Linked DNA regions of Homo sapiens: regions 1, 3, 4 and 5 are each linked to region 2. Evidence: promoter capture Hi-C in 16 types of primary human blood cells and fetal thymus (Javierre and others, 2016). All regions are on one chromosome and are shown on one strand. Each heading gives the region's core, a stretch centred on a gene start or on the middle of the fragment in contact. The rest is flanking DNA. Distances are from core to core; before and after follow the strand shown.

Region 1 (5,473 bases), core at 84-2,583, 400 kb after region 2:
AGTTTTTTCCTCTGGGGTAGGGAATGGGAACTATTTAAAATAGAGGTGTGGCTGTTACATTAAGTATCACCTTTTTCTTTGTGTTCACTGCTTCCTACTCTTGGTATCTACCAGGCCCAGCAGCAAGTTCTGAGTAGGAGCCTATCTGCATTAACATCACAGTGTAGTCTAGAGTGACAGGAGTGAGGACTTGCACTTGAAACAGGAACCAGTGGTCAGAGAGAGGAAAGACTGGTCAGGTACCTTCTAGTACATTCTAGCTTTGAAAGAGGTGCCCGGGAATCTGGTAGGTGGTGCAGATGCCAACTATGTGCAGTCTTAAAAAGTCTAAAGATGAATAAAATTCTGTCTCATAGAGAGAGGTAAATGTAACAAGGCAGGGCTTAGCATGATAATGACAATAGAGAAAATATATTGGTTTGGACAAAATCAAAGATTTAGGTATGTCACTAGTTATGCACTATGGTTACAAATACCTTCCAAATTCAATAAGTAAACAAAGAAGTTGCATGTGTGTGGGGAATAGAAAGCTATGAGAAAACCATGACCTCATTAGGATGATGGGGAGCCTAGATGCCTTATCCACCATAGTGCACAGTGGTAAATAAGGAAGCCCTCTGAAAAAAAGAACTATAAGAAAAAAGGTGAATTTTAGTGGGTTTTTTTGAAGGTGGAACTAAAATAATTTACTTCCTAATTCTCCTCCCCTTAAGTGTGGACTGGATCAAAAGACTCATCTACAAAAAAGGAGAACAGAAGTGACAGTATGTAACTTTGGATAGTAGGCTGTTGGATGACAACTCTCCATGGGTCTCTTGAGTTTGTGAAGTTTTGCAAGAGTCACTGCCTACCCTTTGTTCTAAATTACAAGGATTATACAGTGAACAACCTTGAAAGATAAAGATAGTTTCTTCTTCTGGAGCAAAGGGCAGGTTTGCTCACAGTCTTAGATGATGGAGACAGTACCTCCCTGCAAAGCAAAGGGCAGGCATGCCTGTTACTCATAAAATATTTGGGTTTCCTAAGCTGGGTACTCCTCTCCTGTTACAGAACTCATGGCATATGTAGGTATCCATGTAGGCCCATCTATGGGACTTAGGAGCAAGAGGAAATGATGCAAATACGTAGATAATCATGCTGTTTGGTGTACCACAAATAATGAAGTCCTCTGTCTCCGACACAGGAGTCTTGTGTCTTATGCTACCATCTATGAAACTGTGGCAGGTTAGCTTGTAGCTTGCAATAGGGTAAAATCTCAGACTCTTCACAGTTCTTGCTTGATATAGGTCACAAAAGACCCTGCAGCTTCCTCCTTGCTTTTTCTTTCTTGGATCACTCATTCTGGGAGAAATTAGCTGTCAGTCATGTCATGAAGACACTTAACCAACCTATGGAGAGGCCCATGTGGTGAAATGAGGCTTCCACCCAACAGGTATTTGAGTGAGCCATCTAGCAAAAGGATCCTCTAGCTCCAGCAAGCTATCACGTAGGTGACTAAAGTTTCTGACAACATCTTGACTCCAACTATGTGGAAAAACTGAGTCACATGAAAATTCCCGAGCCAGGACCATCCAGCTAAACCTCTCTGAAATTTCTGACCCACAGATATTAAGATACTATTTTCTGTTTTAAGCCATTAGGTCCAGGGATAATTTATTCTATAGCAACAGATAACTAATGTAATATTCAACCAGAGGATCTGGTTTGTCACACCAGTAAACTGAAGCAAAATTCTTGTCAAGAAGCTCTAAAACAGGATTCCCAGGAGATCCTTATATTGCAAGTTTCCTGGATAAAGCTGACAAGAAATCGTATGGCATACCACGATTTAGGCACACCATCTACTGTATGCCTAAATTCTAGGATTCTAAACAAAATTACGTGAAAGGGTGTCACTCTGGTACAGTACCTACTTTATAATATTTATGCATATATAGCATTATAAAATATAGAAACTAGGCTGATGGCTTTATTTTCAATGGTATTCTTGGCTGATCACGTATTTCCCTTTTAGACCCTAGTCCTTTGATCTTTTGAGTTGACTAGAGATAAAGATTTTTATAGGTACTGATCTCTAAACACAAGAAAGGTTGGTACCTAAAGAGGATCCGTCTCTTTGAACATCTAACTATATCTCTGAAGTTGCTAAAGTGTTTACCGAATGCTACTAACTTGTTTGGTTTTAAGCCTCAAACAGGTCTAATCCTTTCTTAGTTTAAATGATATCAGAGTTTGCAATACACACACATAAAGTACATATATAAATATATACATAAATATATATGTATGTATAAAAACACATAAAACATTTACATCTTAGGGTGGGTGTGGGGAGTCATGATCTACATTCAGAATGCAGTTAAAGTTATGTCAACCAACCTTTTCAAAACTATCTGCAGTATCTGTGTAGAAGTTCCAGGACTCTGAATACTACTAGCATTAGATACCATGAAGATTTCAATAGCTAAGAGCATTTCAATCTCAGATAAATAAGATGGAATTAGAAGAAGTTTTCGGTATAAATTTCCTTCCAATGGTGGGTAGCAACCCAAGGAAAGAGCACCTGAAAAATCAAATAATAGGTCAAACTTTACTAAAACCCAATAGGTAAAAACCTAGATTTCTGAAATACCTACAGGCGATAATTACTTACACAGAATAAGTCTTCACATTAGAAGTAGATTAACAAATTACATGATAGCTTATCCTAGTATATTTGGCATTATTCTTTGTAAAGTGCTTTTGAAACATTAAATAAAAAGTGAGAAGGGCTGGGTGTGGTGACTCATGCCTGTAATCCCAGCACTTTGGGAGGCTGAGGCGGGTGGATCTCTTGAGGTCAGTAGTTTGAGACCAGCCTGGCCAACATGGTGAAACCCCATCCCTACTAAAATACAAAAATTAGTTGGGTGTGGTGGCGGGTGCCTGTCGTCCCAGCAACTCGGGAGGCTGAGTCAGGAGAATCACTTGAACCTGGGAGGCAGAGGCTGCAGTGAGCCGAGATTGTGCCACTGTACTCCAGCCTAGGCGACAGTGTGAGACTCCATCTCAACAAAAACAAAAACAAAAAAAGTGAGAAACATTAAAAAAAAAACACTCTGAAAAATGACTTTTGGGCCTTATCATGGCAAATGACATTTATTTCAAGCCACAGTAAACACAAGACAATTTCAGAATAACTATTTTTGAGCACAGTTATTTATAGTACCATTATAGTTTATGCAATATTTACTGTTGCTACTAAATGTCTGGCATTGTGCTAAGTACTAGGCATAAAATACATTTCCATCCTGTAGGTGATCTGTGTGTTGTAGCTACATTCACCAATTCATGTTTTTAAAACTTCACTTTTCAAGAGAAGAGATTTAACTTTTAAATTGTTTAGGTGCTTATTAGGAGAGATATATAGGGAAATACCTATAAAACTTCTAGAACATCCAAACTATATATAGGCAATTTTATATTATTATATTTTACTGAAACCAATTTAAATATGTATGTAAATTTTGCTTAGAATGTTTTGTTTTGTTAGGATGAGTTTCTTCAAGAAATCTTTCTAATATGGGTAATGGCTAATCTTTGAAGACCTGCTATGTGCCATGTACATGTGCTAACAAACACATGGGTTTTACCTCATTTTAACTTGACAAAATGCTACCTTTGAAATTAGGTACAATTACTTCCATGTTATAGACGAGGGGCTTTTGGTAAGCACTCAGGCTCTCTAAGCTTGCATGGGGTGCCCACTTTCTGGCTCCAGATTTTGGATTCCTAACCACTAGGTATTCCCACCTCCCTAGGTCACTGCCAGGAGCAACAAACTGTTAACTCATTAACTTTACTAGTTTTTGGTAGGTATAATTTACATGCATTCTTATTTAACTTTTCTTACCAGAATTAAAAAGCAGAAAATAAAAAATTAACTAGAAATCTACTAATACGATTTTTTTTTTCACTCAAAATGAAACGTGAGAAGAAAAATACTCACATTTGATTTTGGGGAGAAAGTAATGGAAAGATACACTAATAACATCTCTCTCTTGACTTCTCAGTTCTGAGAGAAAAGCAGTATTTTTAGGACAAAGGAGAACAAATCAGGAGCGTGAGAAAGGAAACTCTGCTGTCCCTGGACAACCTCCTCCTGATTAGTCTGGCATGAAAGCAAGGGAAAGCCATCAAGAAAGTAACAGAAAACTCACAGGATGGACAAAATATTTGTAATTCATATATCTGACAAGGGATTTGTATCCAGAGTGTATATAAATGCATATGTACATGTGTATGTATGTATGAATACTCTTACAACCAAAAAAACCCAATCAAAAAAAAAGGGCAAAAGATTTAATAGGCATTCTCAAAAGAAAATATACGAATGACCAATAACTGTATGAAAAGGTCCTCAACATCATTAGTTATTAGGGATATGAAAACCAAAACTGTAATGATACATTACTTAACACCCACTAGGAGGAAAGCTAAAATAAAAAACACAGTAACAAGTGTTGGTGAAGATATAAAGAAACAGGAAATCCCGTACACGGCTGGTGGGAATATAAATATAAAATGATGCAGCTTCTTCAGGAAACAGTTTGGCAGTTTGGCAAAAAGCTAAATATAGATTTACTGTATGAGTCAGCAATTCTCCCAAGAGAAATGAATGCATATATACACATAAAAACTTATGTGAATATTCAAAGTAGCACTATTCACAATAGCCAAAAAGTGAAAACAACTCAAATGTCCATCAACCAATGAATAAACAGATTCCATTTTATAGAATATTGTTTAGCAATAAAAAGGAACAAAGTATTGATACATGCTACAACACTGAAATTTGAAAACACTAGGCTAAGTATAAGAAGCCAGTCATGGCTGGGTGCAGTGGCTCACGCATGTAATCGCAGCATTTTGGGAGGCCGAGGTGGATGGATGACCTGAGGCTGGGAGTTCAAGACCAGCCTGGCTAACATGGTGAAACCCCATCTCTACTAAAAATACAAAATTAGCTGCGCATGGTGATATGTGCCTGTAATCCCAGCTACTCAGGAGGCTGAGGCAGGAGAATCACTTGAACCTGGGAGGTGGAGGTTGCAGTGAGCCGAGATTGCGCCACTGTACTCCAGCCTAGGTGACAGAGGGAGACTCCGTCTCCAAGAAAAAAAAAAAAAAGCCAGTCACTAAAACACATGTATTAAATGATTCCATTTATGTGATCTGTCTAGAATGGGCAAATTCATGGAGACAGAGAATAAATTAGTTGTTGCCTAGGACTAGGGTGGAAGAGGAGACAACCAGGGAATGGAGAATAAATGCTAATGTGTACAAGGTTTCTTTTTCTGGAGGTGTTGAAGATGTTCTAAACTTAAATGGTGGTGATGGCTGCATGACTCTGTGACTATACCAAAAATGAATGCATTATATACTTTAAGTGAACTAATTTCATGATATGTGAAATTATCTCAATAAAGCCATA
Region 2 (5,504 bases), core at 2,610-5,109:
CTTCTGTGCTTAATATAGAGCTGGTTAACATATTCTCTGGACTTTAGAAAAACAGTATGTGAACCAAATCACTGTCATTAGAGCACTCTTTGGGAAACAAAGAACTGGAGAAAGAACAAAATATTTAATTGATCATAACTAAATGATTATCAAATTTTGAAACCCTGGTGCCCTAAATAAGCCACACAGAATTAAAGAATGAATATTCAGGTGCTGCACGTCAGAGCAATCTCTTCCCTAGTTGGTGCTGGAGACACTAACACATGCTTCTTCTCTGAGGCCCATTTTTGTCTGTTTTCTAATCATGTAAATTACACAACTATATATCCTCACTTTAAAATATTTAGATAATATGGAAGTATATAAGATAGGCCAGGCATGGTGGCTCGCACCTATAATCTCAACACTTTGAGAGGCTGAGGCAGGAGGATCACTTGAGGCCAGGAGTTTTAAGAGCAGCCTAGGCAACATAGTGAGATGCTGTCTCTACAAAAAATAAAAAATTAGCTGGGTGTGGTCATGTGCACCTGTAGTCCCAGCTACTCAGTAGGCTGAGGTGGGAAAATCACTTGAGCCCAGGATGTTGAGGCTGGAGTATGCCATGATCATGCCACTGCACTCCAGCCTAGTATACAGAGCAAGACCCCTTCTCTAAAAGAAAATTTTTGTTAACAAAATAAACCTATTCCTTTCCCCAGAGATTATCAAGTTTGAAGTATCTTCCTTCATTCCTTTTTTCTTCACATTTTTCTATACACATATATCACTTGATTCTCTTTAAATAAATGAAATTGTTCTACAGGTTCTGCTCTGCAATTTGCTTTTATTTCCCACTAAAAAATGTGTCTTAGAGATCACTTCATGTTGGTACATATGGATCTATTGGGGCTGAGAGTCAAATGATACACACTGCTATATCTGTACAAATTGTTCACGACTACCTGCTTGGGCAATGCCTGTACCATACTGTTTGTTAAATATGTGGACTATCTTACCTAAACCTATCTTTATCTGATGTATTAACTTACAACATGGATATGCTATATACAAAAACAAACTCCAGTTGGTTTAAGCAACCAGATGTAAAACCAAAACTCTAAGCACATTTTTAATTCCTTTACTCTCATTTTTCCAAAATAAAAAGGTTTTTTTCTTATCATACAAAGAATGCATGCTCATTCTATTAAATGGTCAGCTACTCCGAAGAGGAAATCACTTGAAACCCAGCCACAGAAAATAATAGTATTTTAATGGACCTTCTTCTAGGTATCTCTTGATGCATATAAACATAAATACGTACATAAGTGTACATATATTATGCATACATATTAAACTAATCCAAATTCTTCAGGACACAGTCATATTCTCTTCACAGAGTTCCCATAACCTAAGAATACAATTTACCCAGAATTATTTTACTGAGTTTGACAGACACCCAGGCTCCATGTTGCCTTTTGATTGCCAGTGACAATGTCAGCTGCAATAACTTAAGCTCTTGTTCTAAACATGGCCAGAAGCCCATTCCATATTCTCTGAGGAAATACCTAATCACATTTGCAATGGGTTTTCCAATAATTTACTACCCATATTCCTTGATCCAACCACTACACCATTAAGGCATCATACTGAGCAGTTCAATAAGTGGTTTAAAGATGTGCTACCAGATGACTGTAGAGTCTTCAGTTCAGGTACTCTGATAAGAACTTAGTGCACTCTAGGACCTGTCCCATAACCAATTATTCCATAGCCGTTTTCACAGTGGGCCACCCTCACTGATTTGAGTAAAATGGTATCCATTTCTGTGTGGTCCTGCATTTTCTGCTGGGTCCACATTTAGTGGACATTGGTGGGTCCCACCATAGGTCTGCCATCACTTCTGATGGTAGTCTCACAACCACCACCATCCTGGGCTCTCTAGTTAGAGTTAACTTACCAAGAGACAGGTTGTTAGGAGCACAAGCAATACTGGCTTTTCTCCTGGGGGCTCTTCTCTTGAGGAAAGGCAGGAATTTGAGGCACTGAGGGAGGAAAAAGAGCCACTCATAAATTGCCAGCCTACTTCCTACACCTTCTAGATTCAGGGTAACTCAAGAACATCCCATCTCTAACCAAATGACCATTTTAAGTTCAAATGAAAGAATATCGTTATTATCCTAGAGGAGTATCTCCAGTGACAAAAATTAGTGAGTTGGCAGACTTCAGAGAGATGTGACAATGTACAAAGAGGGCAGGTCCTTCCTAGGACTAAGCATCTGGGCGTAAAAATTTCTTTATACGACATCAGGTTGGAGCCCAATGGCTCCCCTAAGTCTACTGGAAAAGCCATTGATTTCAAAAGTCAAATGCTGCAGGGCTACAATAGAGGGCAGTAGGACCAGTAATGGACTCAGTCAAGAGGTGTGGATTCTAGTCTCAGCTCTGCCACCAATTTGTTCAATGACCTAACACAGGTCACTCAGTCTCATCCATTTCTTATTTGTTAAATGAAATTGAAAAGCTAGATAATATTTAAAGCTTCTTGTAATATCAACATTCTACAAAGCTTTGATTCTATATACAGATGGGAAAAGAGCAAAAACCTCAAATCAAGCCCTTCCAGTCCATCTTTGATTGAATCTGTTTATTCATTTATTTGAAAAGTACTAAATGAGCTAGCCGTGAGGTGAATGGGTCTTGTTAAGAACGGGCTGAATCAACAGCAGGGAAACTTCCTGTCAGTTATCCTCCTACAATTAGAATTGGGGGAATTTCTCGAAAATAACAAGAGGATTGCCTTTGTGTAAGGAGTATCTGCTGTAAGATGTTAAGGACTCTTCATAAGGGAAAGGTTTCAAGAACCCTCCTAATGCAAAGAACACTGTATTCAAAGGCAGGAACCTGGTTTCCTGTCTAATACATCCCAATCCACTAGCATCTCTTAACTGACACTGAACAAACTGTTTAATTATTTTCAAACGTCTCTTTTATTTCCTCATTTGGTCAAATAAGCCAGCAATTATTTTCAAGCTTGCAGTCAACCTTTAATATTTAGCTCAAATGTGAAACTTCACACCTCTTCCTTGTGGGAAAATTTTGACTTTTCCAAGGCCCTTCCTCGTCTACATTCTCAAAGAATTTTACAAGTTTCTACTGTAGGACTTTCTAGTCTGATTACATTCTGTCTTCCACCAGCAAACTTACAAGTATGGCATGGGCTCCAGGACTAGGACTTTTGAACAAGTTACCTAACCTTTTTTTGCTCCAGTTTTTTCAACTGTTAAATGGAGACGATACCAGTAACTACTTTATAGGGTTGTCGTAATGAATAAGTGGGTTACTACATGGCAACTACTTAGAAGAATGCCAGCTGGTAAGCATTCAATAAATAGTGCCTGCTGTTAAAGTATTGAGTCTACATGTCTTCATACGGTACCTATTTTGTTGTTGTTAGAGAAGAATAAATAATGAAGGGAAGGCACTAATTCTTGCATATACTTACTTCAACCCGCACAACTTTGGGAAACGGCAAGGCAGGAAACAGTATTTACTTCTGGAAATCAGAAAACTAAAGTGCCCAGAAGTTCACTGACATGCTTAAGTATGTATAAATCGAACCCAGGTCCTCCGACTCCCAGCCTAGGGCTCTCGAACAGCCTCTCCTTTCTTCATGGCAAGTTTGCCCTAGGCCTCGGGCCTCCGCTCCACAGGCCCTCCAGGAAGAAAAACGCCCTGCTTCCCGAGGGAGGAGCTGGAATCGACCCGCGGCAGCCGGGCACAGCAGAAACCGCTCACCATGCGCTTCCCGCGGCGCTCCCCGCGGCGCTCCCCTCTCGCACCTTGCAACACTCAGGTCCCTGGGTGCTGCCCTGCGGAAAGGAGTAAGTCCCGGACGCGCCCAGCCGGCGTGACGTCAGCAGTCCGCGCCTCGGCTAATAACCACTACCGTCTCCTCTCTAGGAAGGTGGGAGCGGCTTCCGCTCGGTGGTTCCTTCCCGCACGCAGCTACGGGTTTCGGTGCTGCGCCGGTTAAGCCGGCACCAGAAACAACCTGCGACCCCACCTGGCGTGCGTCTTCCAGCACAGGGAAACGGGATGGAAGTCAGAAGGGTCGACCACAAGGAGCTCTTACTGTGCATCAGTTCATCCTGCAAGTCCGCCACATTTAGCTTCCTATGTTACTGTCCTTTGGGGATTCTCAAGGCTTTTCACAAAACTGGCTTCCACCTTCCTCACACACATCCTCATCTGGAAGAAAACTGACCTCTTCACAGAAACCCCTGACACCTTACTGACCCAGGATCTTTGTTCAGGTGGCCAAAAGAAAAAGTTCTGCAGGCCAGGCGCGGTGGCTCACTCCTGTAATCCCAGCACTTTGGGAGGCCGAGGCGGGCGGATCACCTGAGGTCAGGAGTTCAAGACCAGCCTGCCCAACATGGAGAAACCCTGTCTCTACTAAAAATACAAAAATCAGCCGGGTGTGCTGGTGGGCGCCTGTAATTCCAGCTACTCCGGAGGCTGAGGCGCGAGAATCACTTGAACCTGGGAGGGGGAGGTTGCAGTGAGCAGAGACTGAGCCACTGCACTCCAGCTTGGGTGATAGAGTGAGACTCTGTCTCAAAAACAAAACAAAACAAATCAAACACTGCTTTGGGCTCAAATCCCTGATTCTCAGTGTATGAACTTTGCAACTTTACCTCTCTGTGCCTGCTTCCTCACTTACCAGGTATAATAATGGTACCACAGGGTTGTTGTGAGGATTAAGTGAGGTTAATACGTGTGAATTACTAAGAACATCTAGTATTTTTTAAATCTTCAGTAAATGTTAGGACTATTGTCTGTGTCTCAAATCCCAGCTCCAGTACCTATTGTTCTGCCCTGACTTCACTGACCTTTCAGGGCCTCAAGGTAGCACACCCATCCCTTTCTACAAAACTTCAGATCTTGCTGGCTCTAACTCAGGAAATATTTGCACACATGGGCTCATCTTGACAGGTAAAGTCCAGAGATAAAGGCATGAGTGGAGAGTACCTTATTCACTTCCAAGCATTCCTACTGATCTGCAATCTCAGGACAATAGGGCTGTGTGCACACCATCATATCCCTAGTGTGCAGCATATAGAAGTGAACACTTGCTGTATAAATTAATGAGATGCAGCAGAGAAATTATCCATTCCAGGCCAGGCATGGTGGCTCACACCTGTAATCCCAGCACTTTGGGAGGCCATGGGGGGCGGATCACGAGGTCAGGAGTTTGAGACCAGCCTGACCAACATGGCGAAACCCCGTCTCTACTAAAGATACAAAAATTAGCCGGGCGTGGTGGTGTGCCCCTGTAATCCCAGCTACTCAGGAGGGTGAGGCAGGAGAATCACTTGAACCTGGGAGGCGGACTTGCAGTGAGCCGAGATCATGCCACTGCACTCCAGCCTGGGTGACAGAGCCAGACTCCATCTTAAAAAAAAAAAAAAATATCCATTCCAATCTTCAGATTGGCTGTTTTCCCAAAATGGAGTCCCTTTTGGACA
Region 3 (5,658 bases), core at 796-3,295, 420 kb after region 2:
CTTTAACACAGCAATTCCATCAGAATTTATCCTAAGGAAAAGTAAGATTTAGCGGTGACGTTTAGCAGGAATTATCGTTTACAACTGAAATCTGAAAAACAAGCTAGTTCAGTAAAAGTGGATTCATGGATCAAAAGACAGATCTATCCATCTGTCTATTTATAAGATAGAAAACCATGCAGCCTAGTAAGTGATGCTGTAGAAAAATTTTTCACTGAAAGGCTACTGCCTGAAAAAAATGCAGAGTATAAAAGTGTCGGTATAACAACATTAAAGTGGATAATAGCAATTTCTGGGTGACCAAATGATATGGGATTTTTAACATTAGTTTTGCTTATCCAGCTTTTCATATTTATTAATATGTATTACTTATACAAAGGCAATAAGTTATTTCAAAATTCAAAGGCAGTTTCTCAATAAATGGCATAACTTTTTTACAAAATTTGATTATAGAGAACTAAGATACTTATTTTTCAGCCTCTGAACAAGGATTATAAAATGATAGTCTTAAAACCATTTTATATTTCAAGACTTTTTTATGTTGGTTTTGGGAGATGGCATGGTAGCAATCTGTTGCTCATTTGCAGGATAAAAAGCACTAGTATGAGAAAGAGTTTGAAATGTCAAAGTGAAATGCCAAAACAATAGATTTGTTCTCGCCATCAAATCTGTCACTCACCAAACAAAAAAATGTGTGAGATATTCCGCATTTCTCAAACTTGAGTAATGTATGTAACTCCATCTTTTGCAAATTCAGTAGGTAATAAAAGCATATTTTTAAAAAGGAAAAATATATGTAAAAAGTTAATCTGCTACTCTGTCCTCCAAGCACTCAATTTCTCCTTCCAGAGGCAGAGTCAGCCACTATTACTAGTTTCTTGTGCATTCTTCTACACATATTTTAAGGGTATATAAGCAAATACGTATTTGTCCATTGTATTATTATTCTTATTCGGATGGTAGCAACTGCTCTGTACATTCCTGTGTTTTTTTTTTTTTTTTTGGCTTTGCAATAGGTCTTGAAGATCATTCCAAATGAACACTTACAGATCTGCCTCATTCTGCTTTATCATATGGCTATAACACAGTTCAACTGGTATTCCCTTAATGAGCATTTAAGCTACCTGGAATTCTTTGTTACCATTGTTGGTGTAACAAAATATTCCAGATAATTTAATATGCATACCTTTGTATACAGGTATAAATGTGTGTGCAGTACAAATTCTTAGAAATGGAATTAGTAAATGAAAAAAAAATGTGTTTTAAACTTTTGACATTTATTTTGCCAAAAAGCTCCTAAAGACAACCTCTGTGAATGTCTATTTCTCTATACCCTCACAAAAAGCATATCACCAAACTTTGATCTTTGATAGTCTAATGGGTTCAAAATGGTGTTTGTAATTGTAATGTATATTTCTCTTATTACAAGTGAGTATTAATCTCACTTATTATCAGTGAGATTGAGCCATTTGTATTTCCTTTCTTGGGAATGGCCTGTTCACTATAGAGCCCTTTTAAGAATTAAAAAATTCTAGGAACAACTGAGCATACTTCTGTGGCCTCTTCTTTTGTAGAGATAAAATTTTACTTATGAAAATTACTTTTAGTTGAAACTGTCACTGCAAAAAAAAGAATACTGCTTATAATTGATAGAAGTTTAAAGTTAGTCTAAAACGGAAACATTGAAATTTAAAACAAAATCTCCAAAGATCACTCCACATCTCTCCCACAAACTCTCCCAGTTTCTAGTTTGAGAAAGACTGGTTTTGCCACAAACTTTCAGACAGGAGGTTCCTATCGTAAGGTGACCCAAGTTCATTTTTATAAACTATTTTCACCTTCCCATTTCTTGACACATCGCTTCTTTCTTCACAGAGCTTGTGAGCTCTGGCTTATATTTCATTAATTTCCATTTTTGTATTTTGGTACTCTTCCCACTTAGGAAACCTCACTGACTATGTTTAAGTTGAAGAATACCTTTACAAACGAGCTTTTGAATGAAGCCTACTCACAACCTCTGTATTAAACCCTCAGCACTGAACATATACAAGATATTTTATATACATATATTTCCCATATATGAATCACATGTATATGAATATATATATATGTGCTAGTGTTTGTGTGTTAGTGTGTTTTACAGTTCTCAATTTGCTTTATTTATTGATTCCATCTTCCCACCTAAACTCCTGAGATCCTTGAGGTTTTTTCGTTCTTATCCCACTTTATCAAATAAAATCTGCCTGATGGTCCAAATAGCCAGCGCTATCATTAGCTTCATTAGTATCGTAACACTATTGTGCTCTTTTTAATTTTTCTCATACCAAACTAACCTTATTTGTTCCTGCTGGCTTAATTTCACTGTAATTTCTGCTTAGAAGAATTGCCTTATCAAGGAAAGTAAGCTCTACTCATCTTGGTTTGAAGTCATGTTTGCCCATACATATGAAGATAGAGTTTACGCACACTGCAATCAGGATTTCCATTTTACACAGCGGCTGAAGCCTGGGCTCTGAAGCTGGATTGTCTGGATTTGAATTTGGCCTCCATTCCTTACTTATTATGTCATTTTGGGCAAGTTGGTTAATATCTCTGACAGCATTTTCTTATCAATAAAATGGGGATTTTAATAGTTCCAAATTCAGGGTTCTATGAAGATTATTTGGGATAATTCAGGGAAAGCATTAATATGGAGCCTAGGCCATAGCAAGAATTAGGTTTTGCTTTTTTTTTTCTGAGATGGAGTCTCGTTCTGTTGCCCAGGCTGGACTGCAATTGCGCGATCTCGGCTCACTGCAACCTCCGCCTCCCGGGTTCAAGCGATTCTCCTGCCTCAGCCTCCTGAGTAGTTGGGATTACAAGCGGCCACCACCATGCCTGGCTAATTTTTGTACTTTTAGTAGAGACAGGGTTTCGTCATGTTGGTCAGGCTGGTCTCAAACTCCTGACCTCAGGTGATCCGCTGCCTTGGCCTCCCAAAGTGCTGGGATTACAGGCATGAGTCACCACACCCGGCCCAACAAGAACTAGTTTTTAAATGAACAAAGGCTTATATAATTTCTTCTTTAAGGCTAAGTTAACTTTCCCCTTTCAGTTTACATGACAACCTTTCCTACCCACATGTTCACTAGGGTTTAGACCAAACTATTAACCACAGTTCAATATCAACTTAAGGTAATTACATAGACAAAAATGCATGACAAGTATAACGAATTATTTTATGCTTGCATATATCAGGACTTACCCCTCATTACCCAAATGGCACCATCTAGGCTTCCACTTTTTAGAAAAATTTCTGCTGCAACATTCACAATTTGACATCTTGATGCTAACTTCTCAGGCCCTATAAGTCCTTTTAAACTTGTAAAGTGTATTTTTAATTCATATAGTTTCTCTAAGACCTTCCTTCCCTAGAATAAAAATAAAGAACACTAATTGGGTATCAATCATTTACAAACACACAAAGCCACTGATAATTATTCACAAGCCAAGTATCCAGTTTGAATCATCATCCTAGACTGCTGGCTGTTAAGCTGCTCCAAGACTCTTTCCTTAAGCCCCTTCCTGTTCAGCCATACAGATGAAAGGGAAAGAGGAACAAGCAAGGCTCTGCCTCATATTAACCACCTCTTCCCACCAATACCACCAGACCCCCTTTATCAGAAGCCTTCTTTTTATTTGTTTTATACACTGTACTTCTCCTTAAGATTTCATGTGATGAAAGGCTTCCATGATTTAGCATAGAAAACTACTGATTATATGTTTTTGCTCCTCTTCTGTTGGTCAATCTGGGATCCAGGAGGGAGAGAAAGTAAAAATGAAAATAATTTGTTATCAAATTTAAACATACTCAGGAGGAGGCTGAGATGGGATGATCACTAGAACCCAGAAGTTTGAGATCAGCCTGGGGAGTGTGGTGAAACCCCTGCCCTACCTTCCAAAAAATTTAGACAAAGAATGATAGTGAAAAAAAGGATAAACTTGTTAGCTAAAATTCTTAATTCCGTAGACTAAGTATTTCATGTATTCTACATGAAAATTACCTTTGGTTTGGACATCAGAAATTGGACATATATCATTATTTTATACCATGAGCCAGCAAGCTTTTCCTGTAAATGGCCAGATAGTAAGTAGCTTAGGCTTTGCAGGCCACATTTAGTCTGTTGTACATTCTTTTTGATTGTTGTTTTTTAAATTTATAACTCTTTAAAAATGTGAAAAAGTCTTAGCTTGAGGGCTGTACAAAAACAGGCTTTGGGTGAGTTCTGGACCATGGGCCTTAGTGTACAGACCCTTGTTTTATATTCTATAATATTTGAATTAGATGCTTATTATGATGTCAAGCTACCTTCAAGATGACTGTATAAAAGAGTGCATTTTTAAAGGGATATGTTTAGTTTACTGTCAATGATTTTATTTTTACATTCAAAAAGGAATAGGTTTCATTAAAAAATTCATACTATGTAATAAAATAATTTTCTAAAGTAGTTAAAATTTTTAATTAAAATAGATAAAATTCACCAATCTACCAATGTCTCAAATAATAACCAAATAAAATTAAAATATACTCTAAAATTTCAGCAAAATCAGTCTGAGTTTCTCTTTTATTAAATTTGAGATGCAGTCTATAAAGACACATGCATATGTATGTTTATTGCGGCACTATTCACAATAGCAAAGACTTGGAATCAACCCAAATGTCCATCAGTGATAGACTGGATTAAAAAAATGTGGCACATATACACCATGGAATACTATGCAGCCATAAAAAAGGATGAGTTCATATCCTTTGTAGGGACATAGATGAAGCTGGAAACCATCATTCTGAGCAAACTATCGCAAGGATAGAAAACCAAACACCGCATGTTCCCACTCATAGGTGGGAATTGAACAATGAGAACACTTGGACACAGGGTGGGGAACATCACACACTGGGGCCTGTCATGGGGTTGGGGGAGGGGGGAGGGATGGCATTAAGAGATGGAGTCTTGTTCTGTCACCCAGGCTGGAGGGCAGTGGTGCAATCTCGGCTCACTGCAACCTCCGCCTCCCGGGTTCAAGCAATTCTCCTGCCTCAGCCTCCCGATTAGCGCCATCACCCCCTGCTAATTTTTGTATTTTTTAGTAGAGATGGGGTTTCACCATGTTGGCTAGGCTGGTCTTGAACTCCGGACCTCAAGTGATGCCCCCGCCTCAGCCTCCCAAAGTACTGGGATTACAGGTGTGAGCCACTGCTCCTGGCCCAGTCTGAATTTTTATAAAGGATCTTCTTGTTAGATAGTCCTCAAATTCCCAAGCACTAAATAGTCAAGAAATTAATGCTATGACCAACCTTAAGCTCAATTGTGAGAGCAAACACAAGGTACACCTTGCCTACTCCAGGCCTACCACACAATAAGAGCTAAGCCTCCTGAAGACTTTTGAGCCTGGAGACCTACTATACAACCATTCTAGGTTAAAAATTTTTTTCTTTTTACTTCGTGAATTTTGTAGGTATACAGGTGACCATGTACTTAAATGTTATTGAACGTATATATTCAATTGTGAAATAACCTCTTTATAAAAGCAGCAAGTAACAAAAGATAAACTTTAATAGTTAATTCAATAGTGACCACACTCTCTACTCTACTCTCTATATAAACTCCATCCCTCAGCACT
Region 4 (5,261 bases), core at 2,350-4,849, 440 kb after region 2:
TTACAATTTTCATGGAAAACATGAATATTGTTAATTATCAGTAATTAAATTAAAAAATCATAGAACTTGGAAAACTCAAATTAATTTCAATGTTAGTGATTGAAGGGAAGAAGTACTATTTAGAGCTGCAATTCTTTTAACTGTACCGAGGCATCTAGGGCACAATGGCAAACTCCCCAGGACACCATAGGTTAGTTTAAGCTTGTTAAATAAGCCTATGTTAAGGCTGACACCTGTCAGACACTGAACAAATGACTACTATTAACTTGTTTGGACCTAACTAGTTAATAAATGGGACAGTTAACATCTTTCTTTTGGCCTAGGGACACAGAACCAAGAAAGTTTGGGAACCTCTGCATTAGAAGATAATGAGAAATGAGATAAAAATAGCGATGGAAGCTCCATATTGGAGATTTCTGGGCATTCTGAAGGATTTCAGTAGTTGATTTGCTCTTTATCAAATCTAATTACATTTAAAAAGTTATGATTCATTTAAACACATAATTTATATCTTTTTTTCTATGTATGTTATACTTTGATTTTTTTTTTTTTTAAGTCATGGCCTTCCTTTTTCTTGGTGTAAGTACATTATGGTACCACTTGTATAATTGTTAGAGTTTTTTTTTCAGTTTTTATTTATTTATTTATTTATTTTTGAGACGGAGTCTCGCTCTGTCGCCCAGGTAGTGGTGCGATCTCGGCTCACTGCAACCTCTGCCTCCCAGATTCAAGTGATTCTCCTGCCTCAGTCTCCTGAGTAACTGGGATTACAGGCACGCGCTACCATGCTCAGCTAATTTTTGTATTTTTAGTAGATATGGGGTTTCACCATGTTGGTCAGGATGGTCTTGAACTCCTGACCTTGTGATCCGCCTGCCTCGGCCTTGCAAAGTGCTGGGATTACAGGCGTGAGCCACGGCGCCTGGCTTTTTTTTTTTTTAAAGGTCTTTGGAGGCCCACAAGCTGAATAGAGAAAGTAAATAAGGGAGGGGCACTAAAGTATTTTATTAAGCTAACAACAAAAAATGAGTCAAATAGAAAAACGCATTAAGGTAATTTGTACACATATAAGAGAGTACATTAGGTGTAATTAAGTGGTGAAACAGAAGATAAAAGACACTCTTTTTACACTTGATGAGCAGGACATTGAGAGGAAATGAAGTACTAAGAAAAATAAGGTGAGGCTGGCCACAGGCAGCTTGACTAAAGTAGGGCACAGCCAAGAGACAGGAGAAGGGTTTATGACAGGCCACTATCTAAATGTTTGGGCATACAAACAGTTATTAGAGCTTTGCCTTCAGCTTTTATAAGTCCCCACCAAGACACATATATTTTGGCTTAAATAATAATGATTTTTCTCACCTCGATTTCATTTCCAGAACTGCAGTTATTTCTTGTTTGGAAGCTTGTACTTGGTATAAAAGCTTAACAATATAGTTAAAGTGCTCTGGGTCAAGCACCATCCCGGCTTCAACAAGCTGTAGAAGAGAAAAGAAAGAGTGGTTATTCTTACAAAAATGTGACAGAATTGAGGAGCCAATGTGTGTGAAACAACTAAGACACTAATGGAAGAAGTGAAACATGGAGACAAGTGGAATAAAACTCATTTAAAAAAATTGAGGCACAGAACCACAAAAAGATATCCTAAGAATTTAAAGCAAAAATGAAAATATTAAGTTTTTGGATTTTCTTCCTGCTCTCTAAGTTATCTCAACCACTTTATCATATATACCTCTTATTTAGTACTCAGTCTGTCTTCTAATCTAGGACTGGTATTCATACCTCATCCCTGATTATAAACTTCCTGAGAAGTATTGTTCCTGTGCCTCACATAGGGCCATGGCCAGAGAAGAATCAGTGATTCCTTGATAAATTAATCACTCAGGTGGACCAACTGCCCACATGTAACATAGCACGTAATTAAAAAAATACCAATTCAAAGGCTTTATCTGTCATTCACATATGACTCATTTCCTGTCTTCTTCATGAGCCTCAACGCTAATGAAGAGAACCAACAAGGGAATATCTGGACACTTCTAGTGTGAGAATAGATGAATGAGAGGCAGGCCTTTTCTGACAGCTCTTCTACATGACATTATCCTGGAAACGTGGGAAGATACAAGGTTGTGAGCTGGCAGTCTTATTAGTTGCCCCAGCTCAAATGATCCTCTTGACCTTGGTTCAAAGGTATAATGACTAGGTCCTCCAATACCTCCATAATACTTCAAAGGTATTATGACTAGCTACCCTGGACAAGGATTTAGAGAGTTAAGAATGACTCAACTGAGTGGTGTTTGAAATTCTCTGAGCAATATTTTTGCTGAGAATTTTATTTGGTTCTATTCTGGTTTTCAGAAAAATTCCCCTTTTAAGAAATTACTTAAATATCAAAATATATTTTGAATGTTTGGGAGAATGTATGCTTTGTCTCCAGTATAGATCTGAAGGGAGTACTAGGAAATAAGAATTTGGGGTAGGATAACAAAACAATACCAGGGGTAAGTGGAGAAGCTACCTGTTTCAAGGTATAATGTGAGATGCTGTAATTTGGCTGTTAGAACTCACAATTATATATTTTGAGATAGAATTTCTTTTAGTGAAGGACAATAGTAACAAGCTGCTGAGAGATTTTCCCCACCTTTGAACTCCAAGGAAAATTGTCTCAAATTTAGTGGTACTCGGCCCCTTTTGAATGGGTCCTAGAAATGCTACCCTAAGACACGTTATTCAACAACTTTAACTAAAAATAGTTTTGGTAAAAAAAAATCCTGTAAAAATGACTATTTAAAGCCTGTTCTAAAGATTAGGCTCTAATCCTTAAGCTCTATTAGCTCCTCTAGATTCAAAGCATGCTCAATTTTATTTTAAAAGAGGAAAACAGCTCCTCTCCTAAACCTACCAATCCACTACCTTAACAAATAGTTTTCCAAACATCATGAAGTAAAGGACTGGACATCATGATTTTTTTACTGTTACGCTCTACAACATTTGAAAGGGTCACTGGTGGTCTAACTGTATTCACTGACCTTGCAACGACTTTTGACTAAATGAACAAGGCCAACTATAAACAAACCTGCAAGAGAACAAATCAGTTATCTGGTAACTGACATGCCTTAAAAACTCTGCCCTTTAACACTGCTCAAAGACCAGGGTAAATATAAATTGTAACAGACTAGGTAACAATCTAAGGCAGGACAAAAATGTTAATTATCTTTTCTCAGTGATATTTTTGTTAAATACATGGAGTATGGTACACTGCTAGAATAAAGAGGAGGAAAAGCATCTTTCTCCATGATGATATTATGGTGTTATTACTGAACCCTGAAATAGTCTTAACAGGGAAATTGGCACTGGTTTTAAACAACTTCCAGAAATGATGGCTCCATATTAGCCATGCAAAAATGAAAATCATTGTCTTTGTTAGATATTCTCCACTAAGGGTAATTTTATTTAGACAGTCACTGCGGGGTACATTTTGCAGAAAGCCAAGTTATTCAGTATCAGACAATTTATGGAATCCTTACTGAGATTTTCTACAACCTCTACGGGTTATCAGTAACTTTTTATTTTTTGAGATGGAGTTTTGCCCTGTTGCCTAGGTTATGGCACAATCTTGGCTCACTGCAACCTCCGCCTCCCAGGTTCAAGCAATTCTCCTGACTCAGCCTCCTGAGTGGCTGGGATTATAGGAGTGCGCCACCATGCCCGGCTAATTTTTTGTGTGTTTTTAGTAGAGATGGGGTTTCACCATGTTGGTCAGGCTGGTCTTGAACTCCTGACCCTGTGATCTGCCTGCTTCAGCCTCCCAAAGTGTTAGGATTACAGGCGTGAGCCACCACGCCTGGCAATCAGTAACTTTTGATTCCAAACATCTCTAGGCAAGCAATTGTCAAGTTTTGTAATGTGAAATCTGAGGTATTCACTCACATATCTGTTCTTCTGCTTGAGTTCTTCCAATGTTGCTTCTGAAAGAAAACTGGCAGTTTTCCTATCAGGCCTATTCTGAAGTAGACGATTGAGTAGTATCAAATACTAGGAAGTATTTAACAAAAGTTGAATTTTATATTTTTGTAAGTCTTTTTTGGTTTGTTTATTTCTGTTGTAAATGATCTCAAGTCTTTTAGAGAAAGAAAATTTTATTTAATCATCCTTACGGAGTAGAGACGAAGACAATTCATACATCAAAAAGCAATAATCTGAGTGTCTGAAACTATTTAAGAGGAAGGCTTATCAGCCACTGGATTCTTTTTTTATAAACCCTATTTCAAGAGAAAAAGAATACTTCTGGAAATAGAATTCTTTGGCATCCAGAATGTGAATAAAAGGCAGCTCAAGGGTACCCCCCCATGGAAACAATTATTTTCTTGGTTACTCGCCATCAGAGAATAAAAGAGAAAATAAAACCATACCTTGCAAAAGATATCAATTAAAGCAGGTACAGCATTCCTTAATTTCATAGTTGCCACATACTCAAATATGTTTAGTAATATTTTCAGAGAAGGCTGGATAAAACAAAAAAATTACACTCATTTTCAGATCTTCTTTTAGTACACCTTAAATTTCTCAAATTCATTTATGTTGAAAAACACAAGTGGTTTCTAGGAAGTATTCAACAAATACAGAAATTCAACTGCTAAGTTCAAACAATGAATATGACAGAGAAATTAACATAAAATATTAAAATAACATATATTTTCAGGCTACTTACCAGCATTTTAACCATTATGCTGAGGTTCACTATCTGAAATACTTCTTTCAACAAACAATGTTTGAGTAAAGAATTTAGAAGGTCATTTAGCACTTGTAAATCAAAGTATACACCTGGGGGAAACTTTCTGTAGTACTCCATAAATATGTTTACTGAAAATGAAAATATATATACTAAAGTCATTTGCTGCTTCAGATATCTGTATTTCTTAAATTTGATAATTTTTCTATATATAAAGATAAAATAATATGAATTCAATGTAAATTCTTGAAAGGTACAGTTCTAGTATTAGAAAGAGTAGATGAAAATTAAAGCAAAAGTCAAAATGGCAATAATATTTGAAGTCAACCAAGCATGCTCAGCATGAAGTAACCCATGTGCTACCTGCAAAGAATAGGTCCAAACTGCCATTCCCATACATCATAGCGTCAATATGAGCTCCTACAGAGTCAAGCTCCCAGGCAGTCTTGAGGCAGTAGCCTTGGTACATATGCAAGGTTATATAGTTTGGTGATGGATGCAGACTGTTTTGACACATACCCATGCTTGTTGC
Region 5 (5,430 bases), core at 2,194-4,693, 260 kb after region 2:
GGGAGGCTGAGGTGGGTGGGTCACCTGAGGTCAGGAGTTCAAGACCAGCCTGGCCAGCATGGTGAAACCCCATCTCTACTAAAAATACAAAAAATTAGCTGGGCATGGTGGCGGGCACCTGTAATCCCAGCTACTTGGGAGGCTGAGGCAGGAGAATTGCTTGAACCCAGGAGGCGGAGGTTGCAGTGAGTGGAGGTCACGCCATCGTACTCCAGCCTGGGCAACAAGAGTGAAACTCCGTCTCAAAAAAACAAAACAAAACCTGTAATACCTAAAATGGAAATAAATCAGATAAAAATGATGATGACTGAATGACTGGAACTTCTCAATGTAAGATAAGACAAACCTTTTTTTTGAGACAGAGTTAACGCTCTTTCACCCAGGCTGGAGTGAAGTGGCATGATCTCAGCTCACTGCAACCTCTGCCCCGCCCCATCCCCTTTGAACAATTATCCCTCCTTAGCCTCCTGAGTAGCTGGGATTACAGGCATGCGCCACCACGCCCAGCTAATTTTCATATTTTTAGTCTCAAACTCCTGACCTCAGGTGATCCACCTGCCTCGGCCGTCCAAAGTACTAGGATTACAGGTGTGAGCCACCGCGCCTGGCCAGCAAACTTTTTATTTGGAATAATTGTAGACTTTCAGAGTTCTCTTACACCTTTTACCTAGTTTGTCTCAAGTTGCTATCTTGGATTACCATAGTACGTTCATCAAAATTAAAAAATTTACGTTGGTACAGTACTATTAATTAAACTGCAGACTTTTAAAAGTTTATTTAAGCATTCTTTTTCTGTTGTAGGCTCCAATCTAGAATTCCTCATTACGTTTAGTTGTCATGTCTACTTGGTCTGCTTCAATCTGTGACAGTTACTTAGTCTTTCAAAACACTTCTGAAGAAGTGTTTTATATTTGTTTTTTTGTTTGTTCTGTTTTTTGTTTGTTTGAGACGGAATTTTGCTCTTGTTGCACTGGCTGGAGTGCAATGGCGTGATCTCGGCTCACCGCAACCTCCGCCTCCCAGGTTCAAGTGATTCTCCTGCCTCAGCCTCTCGAGTAGCTGGGATTACAGGCATGTGCCACCAGGCCTGGCTAATTTTGTATTTTTAGTAGAGGCAGGGTTTCACCATGTTGGTCAGGCTAGTCTCAAACTCCCGACCTCAGGTGATCTGCCCACCTCAGCCTCCCAGAGTGCGAGGATTACAGGCATGAGCCACCGTGCCGGCCTTATATTTGTATTTTTATAAAGTCCCTCAATTTGGTTGCATCTCAAGTTTTCTGTCAAGTTTTACCACTGGAACCTTACTGTCTTTCTCCTAGTCATCAGTAATTATTTGGGGGAAGATAGTTTACTACTTTGCATATGAGATGCTGTTTCTCTTTGAACTTTGGTCTAAGTAGCATTCATTGATTGATCTTGCCTGCAGCAATGACTACTGTGGTGTTGGGATTTGACTTTCTCTTTCCTTCATTCCTTCTAGGCATTCATTGGATACTTACATACAATTCTCATTCATTCAAAGTATTAATTGGAATCTTTGTGAGGAAGAGTTATCCCTTCTCCCCTGTTATTTATTTATTCAATCAGTTATATTATTGTGTGCTTTGGATACTTATTTTATTCTTTGCACTAGAATGCAGTACTGTTGTTATTTTATTGCTGAAATTATTGTAGCTCTTTGACTATTGGGAGCTGTGTCTGTTTGCCCCGATTTTTTTTTTTTTTTTTAGTCCTTCCTTAGTTTTTGTTTTCTGGCACCCAAAACCCTTATATTTTTCCCTCCCCAGCCTGGCATCAGTCACTTCTCCAAGGATCCCTGTTTGTTGTTGTTGTTGTTTGTTTTAATTGGAGAATAGTATAGTATTTAGAAATCAAATTTTGGGCACTCCCATTATTAGTTTATTTCTTAATTGGTAAATGAATATAAATATTATTTTAAGGCTTTAAATATATACTGAAAGCATTTTTTGTGTGTGTGTGTGTGTGTGTGTGTGTGTGTGTGTGTGAAGTGGAGTTTCACTCTCGTTGCCCAGGCTGGAGTGCAGTGGCATGATCTCGGCTCACTGCAACCTCCGCCTCCTGGGTTCAAGCGATTCTCCTGCCTCAGCCTCCCGAGTAGCTGGGATTACAGGCATGCAGCACCATGCCGGCTAATTTTTGTATTTTTAGTAGAGACGGGGTTTCTCCATGTTGGTCAGGCTGGTCTCGAACTCCCAACCTCAGATGATCTCGCCTCAGCCTCCCAAAGTGCTGGGATTACAGGTGTGAGCCACTGCGCCCGGCCTGCATTTTTTCTTAAGTGGTGATTATCTTGGAAACCTGTTTGCTTAATATCAGTTTATATACCTTCTATACACTTACACTGGTAGGAAAACACAAAAATAAGAGACTAGCTCATGGGGACATTAAAAGGAAAACAAAGAAATTACATTGGCCATGAGGTGAAGAAACAATGTAACAGAAGAAAATCTCCTTGAAAAATATCAAGATCTTGGTTGGAAGTTTCCCTGTTCTTTTCAAAGCCATTTTCTTTGTGGGAATGAAACTGGGTTAAGGTATAAAGCTCTGGGGGGAGAGTCCTGAGAATAAGATCCAGCTCATGTTCCTTCCCAGTTCTGAGTGTAATTGTGATATAATCTCAGCAAGAAGATAAATGAAGCTTTTCTTCTATGCTTAAAAGCTAGTTGGGACTTGGGAGAAGCCTGTGGCATTAAGATACCTGAATTTCATTGGCGGGCTCAGCTGTCTGCTGAGGTAGCTGTATGTTCACTATGCTCTGGGTCTTTCATTCAGAGTTTGAGAGGCCCGTGAGGTCTTTATTCATGTTCATGATTGCAGAGGCTGAGCTAACCTTTCTTTGACTCAAGGACTGGAATCCTCACTATATTCACAGGCATTCGCCCTGAATTTTCTGTCAGTCTTCTCATCACCTCTTTACAAATACATTACTGCCAGGCAAGGTGGCATGCGCCTGTAATCCCAGCTACTCAGAAGGCTGAGGCAGAAGAATTGTGTGAGCCCAGGAGTTCAAGACCAGCATGGGCAATATAGTGAAACCCTTGTTCCCCCGTCCTCCTCCAAAAATCTGGAAGTTAGCTGTTGTAGGGGGGAAAAAAAAGTCACTGACCCTTTTGGACATTTGTGCAGCAGCTGCTTCAGAACAGTCCTGCTTGGAGACTTATTTTTGGAGCTAATTTGACTGTAGGTGTCAATTTCCTGAGATTGGTCAGTGCCATTTATATTTTTCACTGGGTACATTTCTTAAAAGTGTTTCTCTCTGGCCTCAATTTCTTTCTCTTTAACTTAATTGCCAGATTTATCTTCATCTTTAGCAGCATTTTGGTTCTTTTCATACTTTGGTTTTCTTTCTCTTCTGTCTGTTCTGCAAGTTTGGCCATGAAAGTCTCTCTTCTTTTTCTGTTTTTCAGCTTTCTCCTGATCAGGTGTTTCTCCTTCCCTTTTGTGCTGCTGGCACGCACCGAGGCTGGAGCCTGCTCCTCTTGGTCCTGAAGCTCCCACTGCTTCTCAGTCTTCGAGTCTCCTTTTATAGGCCTTCATTTATTTACTTTATTTCTTCTTTCATTTTCCCTTTTTTTTTTCCTTTGAATACTTATTCTTACTCCACTCCCCTTTTTCACAGCAAGGCTTCAGTTCTCTGCCAGAACTGTAGCAGCTTCCTCAGCATGTGTGATCCCTAATGTAGCTCTTTTCTTGCCTCTTCTTGGCCCATAGAGTAGGGCTGTAGTTTCTTTTTTATCCCTGGATGATTGCATGCCTTCTAGTGTGAGTCTTCTTTACATCTTAGTTTACTGTCATTTCTTTTGACAGTATTAGCAGCACTTGCTGAGAGCAGAGGACATTGGATAGGTATTAGTTCAGAGCAAATGTAGAAGGTGGTGGCTCTTTTAATTTCATAAGTGTCACTCCTTTTACATTTGCTTCACAGTGGTGGGAGATGGAAGGGGTCAGCATTTTCAGGGGATATGACCTTCATCTGTGACTTTGTGCACAGGGTAGTGGGGCCACTTTGCAACAAGTTCTGAGACCTGTTGTCCATCTCACACTTTTTGTAGACACTCCAGTTCTTCTCTCATGAGTCTTTAGTTTGTCAGTTCAGTGGCTATTTATGGGCATATTTGGATCCTGGAGTAGATTGATGGCTGTTACTGATGGATCTTTTCCACCAATAATGTCTGGGTACTTTTACTTCTAGATAAAGAAGCTTTTAGGGACAAGAAGATACTGATGAGATTGCTCTCTAGACTGAACCAAGAGTCATATTAGAGAAATTCTGGATGCAGGTGATCTGTACAGAGTCAGCTGATCCTGTGTCTGTGGAACATTAATGGCAGCACTGCTTGTATTTCTCTTTTTCTTCAACTTTTATTTTTTTTCTTCCATTGTTGCTGGCTACTCCTTTTCTTTGTTTCTGTTTTCTTTCTGGATAGGTTTTTTATTTTTGTTTTGCATGTTGTGTTTTGGTAGCATTTTGCTCTTCTTGTTCTCTACCTCACTTGCCTGTTTTTTTTTCTCCTTACATCTGTTCAACTGGAGAACATCCTTTTGTAGTTGCTTGAGCTGAAGCCATGGTTTGTACTCAAGTCCCCCCTCAAGAATGTGCTGTCCCTTCTACTGTGCATCTGCCATCTTCAATCCTACGAGTTGCTACTCAATTGCTTTGCTTCTTAAGAGAATTATTGATCACTTTGCTGTTTATAAATGTAATGGGTAACAATTTAGGCAACATAGGCAAATAAGGAAGGAGAGCCCTTTCATCCCACCTCCCAGAGGAAATCATGGCTAAAAATACTTTGGTAGTGAGGCTTAGGAGCTTTTATGTGCATATGTAAACTGCTTTGCTTTTCATTTGCTTTAAGACATAAATGACAGTATAACTATGCTTTCTAATAATTGCTTTTCAATTTTCTTTTCTTTTAGGAAATAGAAGACAAAAAAAATATAAAGTTGCTTTTAAATGCAATTCTCTACCTTCCTACCCCCACCACCAGTAAGAGTTTTTGTGAATCCTTCCAGGCTTTTAAAATTTCTTTGAGTAGTTATAGGTACATTCACATACATGCGTATACAGTCACACACACACACGGTTGTACGTTTTGTTTTCACAATTCGTATTTAGGATGTGCTTTCAAACTTAGCACATATTTTTGTTATTGTTGGGAAAAGCAGTCGTGCACAGTTTCTCTCTCCTTACTTGGCTGTGTAGGAGTGTCCTTGGACGCCAGGCATTGTGGCTCATGCCTGTAATCCCAGTGCTTTGGGAGGCCAAGTCAGGAGGCTCTCTTGAAGCCAGGAGTTTGAGACTGGCCTGGGCAACATAGTGAGACCCTATCGCTAAAAAAAAGTCAGGCAGAGTGAGGGTGGCACATGTCTGTAGTCTCAGCTATTCAGGAGGTTGAGGTGGGAGGATCA

The links. Contacts are between HindIII fragments. The CHiCAGO score rates a contact against its expected background, and 5 or more counts as called.
Region 1: a fragment that was not itself captured here is called in contact with the fragment with the promoter of ZNF501 in region 2 in 1 of 17 cell types (monocytes); the score reaches 5.2 in monocytes.
Region 3: a fragment that was not itself captured here is called in contact with the fragment with the promoter of ZNF501 in region 2 in 1 of 17 cell types (monocytes); the score reaches 6.1 in monocytes.
Region 4: a fragment that was not itself captured here is called in contact with the fragment with the promoter of ZNF501 in region 2 in 1 of 17 cell types (erythroblasts); the score reaches 6.0 in erythroblasts.
Region 5: a fragment that was not itself captured here is called in contact with the fragment with the promoter of ZNF501 in region 2 in 6 of 17 cell types (monocytes, activated CD4 T cells, total CD8 T cells and 3 more); the score reaches 5.5 in monocytes.

What each region holds. Positions count from the first base shown.
Region 1 is chr3:44,325,340-44,330,812 of GRCh38, reverse strand. TOPAZ1 (testis and ovary specific TOPAZ 1) reads right to left here. Exons shown (of 20, transcript NM_001145030.2): 19 at 2,380-2,563. LOC105377055 (a long non-coding RNA gene) reads left to right here. Exons shown (of 4, transcript XR_940782.4): 4 at 4,053-5,473. Among named protein-coding and RNA genes, the nearest start is that of TCAIM, 11 kb to the left of the region's middle. The HindIII fragment of the contact is 4,796 bases long and covers 1-3,731 here.
Region 2 is chr3:44,727,990-44,733,493 of GRCh38, reverse strand. It overlaps ZNF501 (zinc finger protein 501), which reads right to left and starts at 3,859. Exons shown (of 3, transcript NM_001258280.2): 1 at 3,479-3,859; 2 at 1,934-2,018. It overlaps LOC105377056 (a long non-coding RNA gene), which reads left to right and starts at 3,968. Exons shown (of 3, transcript XR_940788.4): 1 at 3,968-4,702. RefSeq lists an enhancer at 3,979-4,048. The HindIII fragment of the contact is 3,071 bases long and covers 3,009-5,504 here.
Region 3 is chr3:44,307,577-44,313,234 of GRCh38, reverse strand. It overlaps TOPAZ1 (testis and ovary specific TOPAZ 1), which reads right to left. Exons shown (of 20, transcript NM_001145030.2): 16 at 3,245-3,410. Among named protein-coding and RNA genes, the nearest start is that of TCAIM, 28 kb to the left of the region's middle. The HindIII fragment of the contact is 4,121 bases long and covers 1-4,105 here.
Region 4 is chr3:44,286,988-44,292,248 of GRCh38, reverse strand. TOPAZ1 (testis and ovary specific TOPAZ 1) reads right to left here. Exons shown (of 20, transcript NM_001145030.2): 10 at 4,709-4,860; 11 at 4,410-4,502; 12 at 1,363-1,478. Among named protein-coding and RNA genes, the nearest start is that of TOPAZ1, 48 kb to the right of the region's middle. RefSeq lists an enhancer at 1,059-2,258. The HindIII fragment of the contact is 4,346 bases long and covers 1,427-5,261 here.
Region 5 is chr3:44,470,030-44,475,459 of GRCh38, reverse strand. All of the region lies in intron 1 of ZNF445 (zinc finger protein 445), which reads left to right. Among named protein-coding and RNA genes, the nearest start is that of ZNF445, 4.9 kb to the left of the region's middle. The HindIII fragment of the contact is 1,563 bases long and covers 2,662-4,224 here.